2 separate regions of the Homo sapiens genome follow, and region 2 is linked to region 1. The links are contacts of gene promoters, found by promoter capture Hi-C in human tissues and cell types (Jung and others, 2019). All regions are on one chromosome and are shown on one strand. Each heading gives the region's core, a stretch centred on a gene start or on the middle of the fragment in contact. The rest is flanking DNA. Distances are from core to core; before and after follow the strand shown.

Region 1 (2,538 bases), core at 13-2,512:
CAGAGCCAGGATTCCAGTCTGGGTTAGCCCGACCCAGACAGAGCCTATTCCCCATCAGCTCAGCCCATTGCCTCCTCTAAGCATCAATGTCTGCAATATTCACTGGACATCTGCTCTATACAGAGCACAGCACTAACTATGCTAAAAGAGACAGAAGCCTCAAATCCTCACCTTTTAGGGACAACTAATTGAGGTAGGAGAAAGCACATACAGAGCTCAACAGCACCTCTGAAAAACCACCCATGAGTGCAAGGAGAGCATGCAGTCACCCAGTGGAACTTTGTAGCAGGGAGGGGTGCTGAGCAGAAAAAGAATGAGTACAAGGGAGATAGGAATACAGAAGCCCCCTTGAAAGATGCAAAGAACAGAAATCAATCCAAAGGTGATGTGAGCAACCCCAGGCAGAAGCAATGACATATTCTAGAGCCAGGGAATGAGAATTAAATGTCCAGCGGAGAAGACAGAAAAGCAGCCTGCTATTGTGAGTAGAGGGAGGGGATTTTTCTAAGGGTGACCTCACCATAGTGAGAAGGAGTCTTCTGAGAACTTCTGAGAACCCAAAGTAGAGCAGGTTAATTTTCTGTTAGGCAAGAGGGATCAGTGGGTCAGTTCTTTACTGGGGGAAAGGTAAATGCAAATTGGCATCTGAGGGAAGTTTTCCCAGGGGCATCTGAGGTTAGCAGGGACTAGTTCCCATCACCCAGCCAGGATGACAAACCACTTGAGTTAGGTTGCTGGATTAGAAAGGACATCTAACAATCTCAGTGACAAAATCATTATTAGTTTGGAAAACCTAAATTTTAAAATTAAATATATCTTGGAATGGTGGATATTTATGGGGTGAAAAATGAATATCTTAGAATTAACCAAATTTTATTTTCTTACAGTTGGTCCTGGCTTGTGCAAGGTGAGAAAGGGTTTTTTTATGTGGGCTTTAGAAAAATGAGTCGGATAACCAGGGAAAGTTCAGGTTTTGTGACCTGTTTACCATCATTCCGATTATGATAAAAGGGGTTTTTTTCCCCTACTGTTTTAAATTCACCTCAGAAGAGGCAAAAGGCTTTTAGGGGATCTTCCAAAAGTTAGTACTGCATAAGTAGTTGGAGAAATATGATCACTGACTGAAATAAGTTCCTCCCAAGGCCTGAGCCCTGGCTTACCTGAACTTCCAACGCTGAGCCACAAAATGAGGCCCCCCACCCAGAAGCAGCTCTCCCAGGGACCTGGGGGCATCGCTGAGCTGGAAATCTCAGAGCTGGTATGGAGTAATTCCCTAAAGCCAAAGAGATCATATAACCCAGCCTCTCAGAAAACACCCACGTGGATTTCACTAATCATTAACTAGCCTCATGACCTGAAAAGGAAAAATAAATTCTTCTTTATTTATTTAAATGCCAGAGTTTTCGGTTTCTTCTTCTCAATGAAAATAAATACACTTTCTTTTTTGTTAACCAGAGTGCATTGAAACACACTGTCCCTCTTTGAGCCAAACATGATCAGGAAACTATTTCCTGCACCTCTCCCACTTCCCGTGATAGGATGTTAGTAATAACCAAGGCAGAAGTCCTGCATCTCTGGGTGGCCAGAAACCCCTCATTGTGTTGGAATTATCTGTGGACATGTGTGTCTCCCTAGAAGATTCTGAGTGACTTGAGAGCAAAGGCTTTCTCTTTTCATTTTTGAATACCCAGTGCCTAGCACAAGACTGAGATAATACTATATATTAAGTGTCCATTTAAAGGGAAGAAGGGAAGAAAAAGTTTCCTCTGGAGAGTACTATCATTTTGTAGAATCTTGGGGCTAGGAGTCAAGTCCAACTTTGGAGATGTTCAACTTCCTGAATTCACAAAGAAACTGCATATTAGAAAAAGAAAATGACCTGTAGAGATCCCGTTGGTGGAAGTGGCAGAGCCGGGCCTGGAACCAAGATGGTTCCAGCACCATATGGCCTCTCCACCCCAAAGAGTGGCAGAAACCACAAAGAGCTATTTCTAGGCAAGTCAATGGGGCAGAGGCAGAGGGCAGGGCACTTGCCCCCCACTCCCTAAATCATAACACATTGCTGTGAGGTAGACAGCCCACTGGCAGGGCCAGGATCATCTTTTCCAAACAATAACTCTCTGAGGTGAGTATTATCACAGAGAAGTTAAGTAATTTGTACAACAAATTACTTATTTGTATTATAATTGTATACAAATTACTTAACTGTGACAATTACACAGTTAGTAAGCACAGATAAGTACAAATTACTTCTCTGTGATAGAAGTAATTTGTATTAAATACAAACATTTGTGTTTTACACAGCTGGTAGGGCACAGAGAATTTAAGTCATTTGCCTGAGGTCATGCAGAGCTGGGATTTAAAGCGGGATGAGCCAGCCCCAGAATCCATGCTCTGAGCAACGATACTCTACAGCAACAACTCCTGAAGAGGCTCTGGGACCATGTCATCATGGCTGAACGCAGGATACAATTATTTTGGAGGGGCTAGCCCTTACATCCCCTTGTGCACATGATCTCACTGCTCAAGTGCTGCTGC
Region 2 (2,538 bases), core at 15-2,514, 260 kb after region 1:
TGTGGAAGCCTGTGTTCTCCTCCCCAATACCATTCTCTTCCTATGTTTCTCACAGCGCCACTGGTTTCACCAAGGAGAACGCATTTCCACAGACATCCCCTGGCCTGCCCTGGCCTAGGGGCTCCTCAAAGTGTCTCCACTTTGAGGACCGGGGTTAGGGTTCTCCAAAACTTGGCTTGCGTCCTGGCAATGTCATAAATGGTGGTCAGTTCCTACAATGTGATAAGTGCTATTTTTAAAAAGACTTTATGTACATTATCTCCTGTGATTCTTGCACTTTTTAGAAGCTAGACATTATCTCAATTTTGATAAGACTGAGGCTCAGAGAGATTAAATAATTTGTCTCAAGTCACATAGCCAGTATGTGAAAGAACTACGATAGAAATCTATGGCTTCTGCTTCCCATGCCAGTTCAGTATTACATAGAGGAGTAGGCCACAGTGAAATTATAGTCTGCATAGACTTTTGTTGGCTGGGCTTAGAGCCTAACCACCATTTTAGATCTTTTTTTTTTCCCATGGGAAAATGAATTTCAAATTCTGAGCAATCAACATACAAGTGTTCTTCTACAGCATAACTCATTTTTAATTTGGAGACTATCTCCATTGTCTTCCTACTGAAGGGTTTCATTTCTATTGATTCCTTTATCTTACTGGTCAGGACCCAAAAGGAGGATTGAAAAGTAAAGGCTTTAGAGTCAGACTAGGGCCTACCACTTAATTGATGTGACCTCAAGCAAATTACTTAACTTCTCTGGGCCTCAGTTTCTTCCTTTGTAAAATAAGGGCAACATTACACATATAGGATTATTGTAAGAATTAAATGAATAATGCACGCTTGTAAAGTGCTTAGTGCAGTGCTTGGTGCAGAGTCAGCCTCCAATAAACGTGGACTTCGTTGTTCAATGGGAGAGTCAGGTTGACTACAACCTGGAACATATCCCTGCTGGCCAGGGATGGTCCTTGTTTATTCCTATCATGCAGATGAAATTATTAACAGCACTCCCTTCTACTCTTAAGGTGCCCCAACTTGGATGATAAGTTATATGGGTCACCCTACCTGAAGATGGGCCCAGAAGGCATGACTTCGAGGGGACCACAAAGCCCCAAGGCTGAAGCTCCCTAATCACAGGGAAATTTGGCCTTTGTCAAGAGCATCTCACCAGGGAGCTGAGAGCTACTATTTGGATGTTTCCAGAAGCAGCAGCTGGGTTCTCAGTGAGGGTCTGAAGCCAGGAAGAGAGGCTTCAGGGATAAGGGAGCCCAGCCAAAGGCACCAGCAGTCACGCAAGTGTCTGGTCCGACAGGAGCCCTGCCAAGGAGCCAGGCCAAAAGGACAGGGTGGGGGCTGGAGTGGGGGCCAAGACGGCAAGCCAAACAGGAGATGAGGGGGAGCCGGGAGATGAAGTATCAGGGACACCACTAAGGGAAGTCAGCAAGGTGCTGGAAGGGCAAGAGGTCTCACTGTGCCTGGGGGAAGGGGGTCCCTGGGCATCAGTCCCCCTCCAGGAGCCTATATTCCACTCTTCTTTGTCTTTAAAGGAGTTGAGGCACTGTCTAGGGCACATCTGGGTCATATCCTTCTCCAAGATGCTGTGCACATGTGCCAGGGTTGATAAGTGACTCTGAGACTGTTGGTGATAACAAAGACCAAACATAAAGCAGGCAATGTCATTTAAACCTCCCACCACATTTAATGAGCAGGATTGGCAGCTTATTTCAATTTTACTTCAGTACTTAACTTCTCACAAAGTAGCAGTCATAAAACACTTCTCATAATGAGGTGTAATAATTGAAAGCCCGAAGAACCAAGAGGCAGCATGGTGAAAAGAAAGGAATAAAACGGTGAGAGTCGGAACTAGGTTCTATCCTGCTTCTGTTCTGCCTCTTCCTGACTCTGAATTTTTAGGTAAGTCACTTCACCTCCCTGAGCTCACCTGTCAATGGAGGTAATAAGTGTTGGGAAGGAAAAGTGTGGGGAGGCACGGATTACAAAGGCTGCAGAGTGCTACACAAATCTAAGCTAGACATCTCTCTAATATGATAATAAAGTAGGACTTTCTAAAATAAACATTTATCACATGTATTAAGAAAAAAGCTCAGAAAAGACGAAATACTTTTAAAAAGAATATAGCTGGAGTAAACGTAATGAACAAATTCTAGTACTACAGCAAAATCAGAACAACTTCAGATACTAAAGAAATGCTCCTTTACACAGTGAGTAATATGCTAGTGGGAGCTGCTAACCTTGGCTCCTTCCAGAAATGTACAACAGTTAGAAAACATAAATATCTTCTCAAAAAGTTAGGATACATACACAGATAATAGGTTCATAGTGGAAAATTAATATTAATGAAAATTCAGAGTCCCTTTTTGAAGAAAGAGCAATATTTCTTTCCAACAAACATGCCTGGTTCAACCCAGAATGCTGGGTTGGGCTGTTTGGGTCCAGTATTTCCAACATATGGAACAAATAGCACCTTTGATGAGGGCAGCAAAATGCGATAGATGACGCATGGGCTCTGGGATCTGATGAGCC

The links. The method cuts DNA at HindIII sites, captures the fragments that hold promoters and counts their contacts. A contact is called where the count stands out against the background at its distance.
Region 2: a fragment that was not itself captured here is called in contact with the fragment with the promoter of PLA1A in region 1 in 1 of the 25 tissues and cell types used here (liver).

Annotation. Positions count from the first base shown.
Region 1 is chr3:119,596,609-119,599,146 of GRCh38, reverse strand. PLA1A (phospholipase A1 member A) reads right to left here and starts at 1,262. Exons shown (of 11, transcript NM_015900.4): 1 at 1,161-1,262. The coding sequence starts at 1,233. RefSeq lists an enhancer at 394-583. The HindIII fragment of the contact is 21,246 bases long and covers 1-2,538 here.
Region 2 is chr3:119,333,059-119,335,596 of GRCh38, reverse strand. The region is part of intron 1 of ARHGAP31 (Rho GTPase activating protein 31); the gene reads right to left. Among named protein-coding and RNA genes, the nearest start is that of ARHGAP31-AS1, 12 kb to the right of the region's middle. The HindIII fragment of the contact is 5,793 bases long and covers 1-2,538 here.